Linked DNA regions of Homo sapiens: region 2 is linked to region 1. The links are contacts of gene promoters, found by promoter capture Hi-C in human tissues and cell types (Jung and others, 2019). All regions are on one chromosome and are shown on one strand. The core of a region is centred on a gene start or on the middle of the fragment in contact, and the rest is flanking DNA. Distances in the headings are between cores, read along the strand shown. Region 1 holds the start of CASQ2 (calsequestrin 2). Region 2 overlaps CASQ2 (calsequestrin 2).

Region 1 (5,615 bases), core at 1,350-3,849:
GGCCATGTACTTCTCGGCCATGCTGGTGTACAGCTGGCATCATCAGACCCGGGTCCAGAGGCTGAGCAACTCTGTTTAAGGAAGACTCTTGAAACCATCTTAAACAGGCTACCCAGAAGCCCCTTGGGCGTTTTCGCACTGATTTCAGGAGTAGTACCGTGTAGGTGTTACGTACAACTGCCTTCATCTGTAGTAGCTGTGTGACCTTGGACAACTTAGCCTCTCTGCTTCAGTTTCCACATCTATAAAATGGAATTGGTAACTGTACCTACTTAATAGAATTATTGTAAGGATTAAACAAGCTAACACATACCAAGTGCTTAGAACAGTCCCTGCACTTAGTAAGCATTTAATCAACATTATTATTATTTAATCATTTCTTAAGCTGCATGATAGTTACTATTTTTCCATATTTATAGATAAGAAAATGAAGCTCTGAGAAATTACGTAATTTGCCCTGTGTCCTGTGCCTAGTAGAGACAAAGCCAGAACTTAAATCCAGATATCCTGACTTCAAGGTCTGTGTTCTTTTTCTCCTAATGATGCCTCACTCCAGCTTTAGCAGCCTGAGGGGCATCAAATTAACTCCTGTGGTGAACTTTTCCTTATCGGTCTCTGCTGGGCCGGCACCCACTGTGAAAAGGGCACTCTTGGATCAAAGGTGTCTGGAGGGATGGTAAGCCCAGGGGAAGTTTCTGTTCATGATTTTGCATAGTCTTTGGGGACAGATATACTTGGGGGAGCTAGAGATGATAGATAGATAGATAGATAGATAGATAGATAGATAGATAGATAGATAGATAGAAGGATGATAGAAAGATATTTCTTTTTTAAAAAAAATTAGAATCAGAAATGAATGTCCTTGCCTGTACTGGCCACCCAAAGGCATTCTTTTGGAGTTCTAGGCTAACTGGACAGCGATGAGCATATAGGGGAGAATCCTTATGCCTTCAATTAAGTTTTCATAACAATGTCTCTTGATAACTGAGTATGGCAGTTTGAGATGGAGATATAATGTAAGTGTTGGTTTCATGTGCTAAGCAGCAGCTAAGTTCTATGTCTCGTTCTTTTCCAGCCTGTGATTTGCTCATTTCTATAAAATAAAGTCTTAATAACTATCCCTGCTTTCTCTTTTCTTGCAACCCACAGAGAGAACTGAAATTCCACATTCAGCACCCAAGGTTGGAGATATACTTTTGATGTATTTGGGATAGTTTTGCTGGATTTTATTACAGTCAATTTTTCAATTTGAAAAAATTCAAATCCACATGGGTTTTATATGATAATCCTATTAAACTATTTCATCAACCTGAGTTCTCTGATTGTGCTGGTTAATAAACTGTAATTCTCAAATATCCCTTTCACAGGTTTGCGCCTGGGCTAGGCGTGGAGACTGATGAGGCATCTTGGTGCCCACTAGCATTCTTGGCACCCTCAGGCCCTCTTAAAGTGTAAGCCATCTTAAGCTGTCCAGGAGGAGCTGCAGGAATAGTTTCTGGGGCACTCGCAAAGGATTAGAAAATGGGCCCCAGTGCCAGGTTACAAACAGGCAGGCCATGTAATGCGGATAAAATAAGAACTGACTTCAGCTCTGCCCTAAAGTCACACCAAGAACTTTCTGAGAAAAAAAATCACATAAATGAATATGCTGCTCAGAAGATCTGCACACAACTACATTCTGTAATGCTGACTGACGCAAAACAAGAGAGAGGAAAGTCATTTAGTGATATTCTCCGTCTGACCCCCAGAGAGACGCAAGGTCAAGTAACTCTGGTCTCTCCAGGATCATGGGGAGATTTGAGGGAGCAAAGTGGGCACACTGAATGAAATCCACAAGTAGTCCCTGGATTTCATTTCAGCCAACAGTTTTAACAATAGTTTCTACATTCTATCTGGGAAACAATGGCTGGGACAAGGGCCCTTGAAAAGTCAAGGGGGCCATAAAGACTTTACATCAGACCCATCGTAGTGTAGCACGTTTGGTCCTCTTCATTTGAAGAGTTAGGACCCACCCCTCATTGTTCACACATCCCAGCTGTGTGACAAGGGCATCTGATTCACGTGAGGCCAAAATAAAGCAGAGTTCAGTATATATTCTCTGCATCCTCGTTCCCATATCCCAACCCCTGGCCAAAGGCATTCCCTCGGCACCTCACTGAGGCAGCGCAGACAGCATGCCCTTTGGTTACTTACCTCAAGCACGATTTCTTTCAGTTGGAACTGTTTTTGCGTGACCTTATCTGAAGACACCGGCTCATGGTAGTAGAGGCAAAGCAAGTCATATTTCTTTAAAACCTGCTTGAAGTTCTTCTCGGAAAGACTTACCACTCGGTCCTTCCCATCATATGTGGGGAAATTAAGCCCCTCTTCTGCCCTGCAAGAGGACAGAAAATAAATCCCCACAATAAACAAGTGAGTTCTCTTCATTTGGGAAAACTTTTGTTTCTCGTTCCCAAATATGCTGTGTGCAGAATAGAGGACAGAAGACTGTTAGAGGCCTTGTTGAGCCAAGGAGAGAGCAGACAGGCTGATTTTCTCTCTTCTTTGCCCTTCCTGGGGCTGAAAAGTGACTCTTCACCTCCTTGGGTCCAGCCAGCTCTGGAATCGTGGGCTCAGGACAAAGAGCAGAGGCACACACACACACACACGCACGCACGCACGCACGCATGAGAGTAGAAAAACAGCCAAGCTAGGGAGGCTGGGAGGCCAAGCCCCAGATACCTTACATAGCTCTGCTCAGCCTCTGTCTCATTAGGAACTCCATTTTTAGGATGCAGTTGTTTCAGGCTAAAAATAAATCATGCAATGAATAAAAAAGTTAGATACGACACTGTAGAGGGATTCGCTGATACAGTCTGTCCGACTGGTGAAGAGGGAAGAGGCAGAAGGAAAAAGACAAGAATGTACACGCATGAAATAAGGAGGCTAGAAAGGTCAAAGAAGAGAAAGAAACTCGAGAGGGAGAGAGATAAGGGACTATGGTGCCAATAAGCAAATGGAGAGTTCAAACATACGGAATGACACTCATACATTACTGAATTGTTAAATCACCCCAGGGTGGTAACTCAGCCTGTCCCCTCACGGTGGTTGTTCATCCTCTGTTCCTCACTGCAACATGGAACAAAATGGAGCCCCGAGGTAGACTTCTTCATGTTCTACTCCTGTCTTTTTCTGCCTTCCCTCCTCTCTTCTTAAAAATCCTCTGCCAGCCACTGGGCGAGGGGTGCAGGGACACCCTGCTGAACCCAGCTGACACCAGAAGAACCTGTCCTCATTAAACTAAAATGAAACAAGGTTCACAGTTCAAATCCCTACTCTGCCTTTTAACAGCTAATGAACTTTGGAGGGTCACTTGCCCTCTCTGATTCTCAGTTCCCCTCTATGTAAAGTGGGGCTGATAATAACCATAAAGTTTCAAACACATAGATGAAAAAGCATGGCACAAAATAGGTGCTCAAAAATAGTAGCTATTATACTTACTTCTCATTGGAGCTGGTGGAACATTGGTTATATAATGGATATTTGTCTGTTTCTAATATGAATGGTTTGTGAACCCTTTCTTGTCCATTTTCTCCTTGAATCCAGTAGGCAATTGGGGCAAAAGGGATCAGGGCTCATCCTACCGCTGAGCTAACAGCAACTTGTCTGAGTTTGCAGCATTTCTAACTGCCGGAGCAAGAATCCAACCCTGCCTCAAAGCTGCTGCTCCTGGCTGTTTTGCCTCTGACTCTGGGTGATTCCCTTGCAGACACCCCTTTTCTTAAGTACCTTCTTGACCATCTCTTCCAGTCCAACCCTAGTCCAGTCATGTCTCTCCACTCTTCAAAGGCATCTAGGGCATTCATGATTCTGACCAAGTTTTTGTTCTCCTTCAGTTATAAATCAGCTTTGGAAAGACAGAGTACTCTGTCATGCACAGCTTCTGCAGGGGCTAGAAGGCAAAGAGAAGATCCGTGGCCTCTCTGAGTAAAGCAAGGCTCCCCTGCAGTCAGACGGCCTTACACTGAGAGTCAGGCTGATAAGGGGTTGTCTTGATGCTACACTCTCATGTGCAGAAAGTTGGGGCCTTGAAGAACCCATCACTAAAACCCTTGACGGTATTCCGTTCTTTCTAATGGTGTAGTCTCTAAGTTTTCAAAAGATGGAGCCAAGAATATCCATTCTAAGGTGCACTTAGCTTTCCAAGTCAGTGGCAAGCATGCAAGATCTCTGCTTTCTTTAGGAAATTTAAGGGGAAAAAGATTTCCGAGTGAAACAATGTGTGTCTTGTCTTTTTGAGGTCAGCCTCCCCAGACTGTTCCCAGTTGTCTCGATCTCACTGGGTTACCTTTATTTAGAATTTGCTCCACTTTTCTTAATATGTAAGTAGGTTTTTTTTAACTGTTACTGAAAAATTGGAAGCTATTTAAAGTCAGAGTCTTTTAATTTCCTTCTGACTTATAATTGACAAAACTATAAGGGAAAAGAAATAATTTTTTAAACTTTAGTTTAGCCTTCAACTCTGGTTTACTACAAAAAGCCCGAGCTGTGGAAAGTTCCTGCCCCTAGATCATGGACTCGATTTGGGCCAGGCAGCCCAGCCCTGAGGACATGCAGCCACTGACATATGCTGTGGTGATCAGGTTTCCCCCAAGCATCCATGGTAGATATGAGGTCTACATTCATGCCCCACTCTCAGCAAAAGGTAGGTTTTCATAGTTTACATTTAACGTACCAGGCTTATTTTCTGTCTGCCTTTCATTTTCCTATTTTTGTTTTTCCTCTGTCTTATTGCTCACCAACTTTAATTTTTTTTTTTTTTTTTTTTTTTTGAGATGGAGTTTCGCTCTTGTCGCCCAGGCTGGAGTGCAATGGCGCGATCTCGGCTCACCACAATCTCCGCCTCCCAGGTTCAAGCCATTCTTCTGCCTCAGCCTCCCGAGTAGCTGGGATTACAGGCACGTGCCATCACGCCTGGCTAATTTTGTATTTTTATTAGATACGAGGTTTCTCCATGTTGGTCAGGCTGGTCTTGAACTCCCAATCTCGGGTGATCCGCCTGCCTTAGCCTCCCAAAGTGCTAGGATTACAGGTGTGAGCCACCAGGTCCAGCCAATTCATTTATTTTTTAAACAAAGAATGCTTCACACATTTCTGAGTCAACCTTACATCCTGCAAATCAGCTGTTTTGTTCCAGCTTTAGCTGCGCCCCAAGCCAATGTGTCATGTACTTCTAGTTTATGTGGTTGTGCTGAAATGTGTGCATTTTTATGTGCCATTAGTAGGTACTTTTTGTTTTGTTTTTAAACAAGAAGGGGTAGAACAAAACACACAAATCAATACAAATAAATGTTTATTGTTGTCACAATATATGCCGTAGGCCCCTTGTTTTGCTAACCATTTCCAGTCCTTCACTGTGAGTGGCCGCCAACTACAGTCCCTTAATCTAACCTAGCTCATTTACTTTGTTTATTCTTGACAGGTGGCAGAATGATTTTTCTCTCAGACCATTTTATCTACAAAGAGAAACGTATGTGCTCACGCCTCCCTTCGAAGGTCTGCAGGTCTCCATTTGGGCGCCTCTGAGGTGCCTCAGAGAAAGAACCGCCCCCAGAAAGGCAGGAGACCTGCGTTCC
Region 2 (5,615 bases), core at 3,116-5,615, 37 kb before region 1:
TGAGATGCGAAGTGGGAAATTTAATTCTACAATCACCATCACTCTACTGCATTTGCCAGGGCTGGATGGGAAGCAAATGCCAATGGAGCATATTTACTATCCTGTGTTGTATGGATTTAATGGAACCAATGTTGATAAAACAGGCAATTGATGGAGATCCTTAAGGCATATAGGTACTCAGAATCAGAACCCAACCCATTAGCCTGTCTTTGATCTGCTCATAGCCCTAATTGCTTTTTAGGTTGAAGTGCTGGCCCTACAGTTAAATCTCTCAGTACCCAACTTGCTTCATGGTTTGTCAGGCTTTGGGAGCTGCCCAGTTTGTCAGCAGTTATGAGGTGACTGACCATCTTGCTTTGTTCTGGGTGGAAGGGCTCCCTGGGATGCAGGACTTTCAGTACTGAAACTTGGACAGACCCCAGTAAGCCAGGATGATTTGCTCATCTTACAACAGATAAAGAGCTCGGAGAGCCAGCCGATAGCCAGGAAGACATTTTCTCTCTGGATTAAAGCAGCCACATGTTCAGTGTGTTGTCAAGGCAGAATGGTTGCTGTTTGCCTGCACAGCTGCTGAACTCAGGACCTCTGTTTGTGAAATGATTTCAGAGGCCTGGAATGTGCAACGCTCTATAGAAAACCAAATGCCACTCTTTTCTAGTTCAGAGCTGTGGTTCAAGAAAGCGCAGGGATGAACAGTGGTTCCCTTTAAGCTGAAGAGGAATTGCCTAAGAGCTGATGCACTGTGGTGGTAACCCGTGGTGCCGTGACCCAGGGCGGCTGCAACTAACTGGGGAAGGGGAGGAGCTGGGTATTGCATAAGCTCTTACACAAGGAGATCCATTCTGAGGAAACATTGATATCCATATGGTTTTTGTCATCAATTGCTATGAATTCCAGGTCACTATATTCTGAAAGGCATTTCATATAGTACTTAAGGGAGAGAAATTCCAGCATCCTACTCAGAGATCAAGAAAACAGGCCATGTTGACAGCTATAGTCAGTCAAGGGAGATTTTATTGTCAGGTTAATTTTAAGAGAGGGAGATGTGGAGTTTTTTCTAACTGTTTTTCCCTCTTCTCAGGGGTAGGGGGGTGATGTAGATGATGAGGTGATGAGGCAGGGAGCCAGAGTGGGCAAGAAAATGACATTGAATTCTGGTTTTCTGAGTTCACTTACTATGTATTCTAGGAACCAGAAGACTGTTTCCATGAAAGGAGAAGTGATCAGAATGAAAACAGTAATAATAACAAACATATGGAGTGCTTATCACGTGCCAGGCACTGCTGCCAGGTGTTTTAGGTTGATTCTTTGTTTAATTCTCACTTTGATTGTATGTGGTAAGAATGATTATCATAGTTATTTTACAAATGATGAACCTGAGGCACAATTTGGGTAAGAAATTTGTCAGGATCATATATCTGGAGGGAGCAGAGCCAGAAGTCAAACCCGCCTGGTGGTGGTGATAGTCTCGTCTCTGAATGCCAATGTCTGGGTCCACAGTGCTGTCTAAGAATGTAAAAATTGGATTGTCGTGTCCTTAATTTAAGTCTTGGAAATGCTAAGTAAAAATTTCCCAGGGATCTCTTCACTGTCTACCTACCACCATCATGGAGTGCTCTCATCTTGTATCTCAGAGAATCCCTCTCTTTCATTCTTTTTTTTTTTTTTTTTTTTTTTTTTTTGGTGAGACAGAGTTTTGCTCTTGTTGCCCAGGCTGGGGTTCAATGGCACAGTCTCGGCTCACTGCAATCTCCGCTTCCCAGGTTCGAGCGATTCTCCTGCCTCAGCCTCCCGAGTAGCTGGGATTATGGGCACAGGCCACCACACCCAGCTAATTTTTGTATTTTTAGTAGAGATGGGGTTTCGCCATGTTGGCCAGGCTGGTCTTGAACTACTGACCTCAGGTGATCCACCTCCCCCCTCGGCCTCCCAAAGTGCTGGGATTACAGGCGTGAGCCACTGCGCCCGACCCCCTCTTTCATTCTTATTATTCCTATCTTGGATGGTAAGGACTGAAGGGATTTGATTGGTTGAAGCTTTTATTCATTCATTTATTCAGTAAGTATTTAGTGGGGCCTACTGAACCCAAGGCATTATTCCAGGAGGAGATCTGGTTCATGGGTATTAGCATTATATAAGAATGAATTATATTATTAAGAACCAAATGGGTCCATAAAAATGAATTCTTTCATGCTTTTATCTGTTAACTAGTTGGAATAGATTTCAACAAAGATAAGAAAACTACAAAGTACAATGCCAATTTTCTGACATGTGCATGTATATGAATTTTGATACAAATCATTTTTCCTCCAGTTAGCAAGTCATTTTAGTTGTTGCCAATGAAACCAACTCAAGTATTAGGTTGGTGCAAAAGTAATCGCAGTTTTTGCCAAAAGTAATGGTTTTTGCCATTACTAAATTTAGGTCTTCCCAACATCTATCTTCTCCACTAACTTTGTTTAGTCACAGCACCCTTTGGCTCCAGTGTGATTTAAAAAAGAAAGTGATTTTTCGTCTCATTGTTCACTCAGACAGAGAGAGGAACAGGTCAGTGGGCGGGGACATGGGATTTTAAGAACTGATATTTTTCAGGCTGTGAGGTGCAGCAGAGTGGAACCATCCTTGGCCCTCTGACACTTTCTTGTTCTAACTGCTTCTTCAGAGAGGTTGGGCCTTCGTGTGGCTTGATTTAGGATTAGTATTAATAGATCAGTACTGGTCCTAAACCTCCACACCCTTTAAAATTCCTTGGGTGGCTTTTGAAAATGCAGATTCCCAGACACTGCCACAACCCTAAAAAATTAAAATTTCCAGGGCTGGGGCCCAGAGACCAATGGTTTTAAAAGCTTGTTGGAGGATACTAATATGGATAGTGGTTGGGAACTACTGACTGACAAATTTACATCAGCAGCCATGACATCTCACCCTCTTTACAGTCTTGCAACTCATATGATGTATTTATTGGTTTGTTTACTTTTGAACTTTCTGTCTTTCCATCTTCTCTTTCCCACAATAAACTTTAAATTCTAAAGGGCAGGAATCTGCTTTGCTCAATGTTGTGTCCCTGGCACTAAGAAGAGTGCCTGGCACATAAAGGGCACTCAATAAATACTTGTTGAGTGAATGACTGAATTAATTAATTAATTAATTAAGGACATTTCCAGTTGAATGTTTCCCCAACTTTTAGAAAATAGAACTCATAACCCCATCTCTTGTTCCTCAATAGATTCTTCTTCCTGGATTTCCTAATGTTTTCAGTAGCTTCATAATTTTTGCTGTCTTAACGCCAAGACTTGCTATCTTAAGTTATTTTGAGGCCTTCTCTCATCATCTCATCAATGGCCAGATCTTCTTGTTATATCCACTTTTACTAGTGCCAGTTGTTTTTTGCATTTTTGTGACCGCATTAGTGCTTTCTTGTCCCTTGCCTCTCCTGGTTTCAGACCTCAACAAAGCACCTCCAGGTCCCTCTGAGATTCCCTAGGATGTGTTGTACAAACAGGTCCTTTCAGCCACTTCACATTTATTACTTTTCTCCTCTTCTGTCCTAGCACTCCCTGCTGGAAACCACTGAGGCTCTACCAGGTGCAGTCATGCCTTCTGGACTCCACCATCTCCCCTTGGACACCCCCTCCACCCCAACTGATGGATGCAAGTTCTTAAGCACCAAATGGCATCAGAGTCCTCTCAGTGCTCTCCCCTCTGTGTACCTTTGTCTCTTTAAATATTCTGAAATCCAACAAGGCTACATGAACACTGGCACTTATGACTCAGTGTCCTACAGAATTTGAATAAAGCATCTCTCTGAATTTTTAATCATAGCCTGACCTCACCTTTTTCATGGACCACAGGCATGAAGCTATACAGTTGCACTAGGAGGCACTTCTACAAACAAATACTACCCTGAGCTCAACGTTGAACCACCCCTCTAAAAACTAAGGCTTTGTTGCTGGACAAATTAATTGGCCTGCCTCTCTATTCCTTTCAGCTGGATTCTTACCCAGGAGCCTCTTTAGCCACACCTAGTCCATTAGAACCAAATGGTCCATCAGAACCATATGTCAGTAATGGATTCAGTTTCGGCTTCTCTGTTCCTCCCTTTCTCTACTAATATCCTATCCAATCCTCCCACTTCCTGGGCCTAGATGATTGCTTTCTTATGAACAATGGTGCTCATAGCTGGCTAACTATTACTGAATGCTTCCTGTGTGCCAAAAACCAGCTAGGCAGTTTGCATATATTGCTTCTTTCTCTGGAGTAAAGTAGGACAGAGCATTGACTTTGAAGTCAGGCTGGTCTGAGATTATAGCAAGCTTCTCAATTCAGTAACTACATGATCATGAAAAAATCACTTAATCTTTCAGCACCTCAGTTTCATCCTCTGTAGAATGAGGATACTAATTCCTCCCTTATGGGAGTGTTGAAAGGATGAAGTGAGAAAATCCATGTTAACTTCTTAGCACACACTCTGGCACAAAGAGACTTCTTAGCACAGACTCTGGCACATAAAAATTTTTTTGAATTTATTATTTTTTATATTTTTATTTTTTGAGAGAGGATCTCACTCCATTGCCCAGGTTGGAGTACAATGGTATGATCACAGCTCACTGCAGCTTCAACCTCCTGGGCTCAAGTGATCCTCCCACCTCAAGCCTCCCAAGTAGTTCGGACTACAAGTGTGTGCCACCACACCCAGCTAATTTTTGTATTTTTTGTAGAGATGGGGTCTCACCATGTTGCCCAGGCTGGTCTCCAACTCCAAGGCTCATGCAATCCACCCCCGTCAGCCTCCCAAAGTGTTGGGATTACAGGTGTGAGCCACAGCACCTGGCCCATAATAGACACTTAATACATGATAGCTTTTTTGATTATTCTTGCTCAAGATCCCTCCCAACTGTAATACAACTAATTAGGATAAACATTCTTCAAGTTTAGATTATGTTACTTGGATTATAGAGCACTCTTCTGGATCATAGGCTTGAAGACTGGGCCATGTCTACAGAAGTGGTTCATCATATACATGAACTGAATGCAATCTCATCCCACCACGTCCCTTCCCTGCTTCAGCTCACTGACTTCCTCTTGTTTTTCGCAGAACACTTGCTTGAACTAATCACAGAGGAGTTCCCATTCTACTTCCCATCCTGACGCAGTAGAAGGGGAAGTATGCAACCCCAGGAAGGGAGAGGATACCCCCTAAGGAAAAAGGAAGCAGTGGCTCAGTGGGCTGGCACACTCTGGGCCCACACGTTTCCCATCTCAGTGTATAAGAAGATAATGGTGGGTCATCACTTTTCCTTGGATGTTTTCATAAATATCCTTACATCCTCTGACTTAGTCATCTTTGTACTCATCTTAAATCCAATAGTGATTTAGTGATATAATTCTTAACCCTTCTAGAGAAAGAGGCAAGGGAGGATGGTTAATGTTGCTAAAAGAAAAGAAAGAGTGGTGAGAGTTCAAACTTTAATTCTTCATGCCTACAAAACTGTTCAAATTGGGGTTTCATAGGTACTTACCCCTTTGTCAAAGGTGGCAAAGAATTTGATGTAAGGCTGGAAGTGTTCAGCTGCTTCTTCAAAAGCCTTGTAGTCTAAGGGGAAAAATAAAGATGA

What was found. The method cuts DNA at HindIII sites, captures the fragments that hold promoters and counts their contacts. A contact is called where the count stands out against the background at its distance.
Region 2: a contact is called between a fragment that was not itself captured here and the fragment with the promoter of CASQ2 in region 1, in 1 of the 25 tissues and cell types used here (mesenchymal stem cells).

What each region holds. Positions count from the first base shown.
Region 1 is chr1:115,766,115-115,771,729 of GRCh38, forward strand. CASQ2 (calsequestrin 2) reads right to left here and starts at 2,600. Exons shown (of 11, transcript NM_001232.4): 1 at 2,194-2,600. The coding sequence starts at 2,427. The HindIII fragment of the contact is 10,019 bases long and covers 1-5,615 here.
Region 2 is chr1:115,727,382-115,732,996 of GRCh38, forward strand. CASQ2 (calsequestrin 2) reads right to left here. Exons shown (of 11, transcript NM_001232.4): 5 at 5,520-5,593. Among named protein-coding and RNA genes, the nearest start is that of CASQ2, 39 kb to the right of the region's middle. The HindIII fragment of the contact is 3,849 bases long and covers 2,442-5,615 here.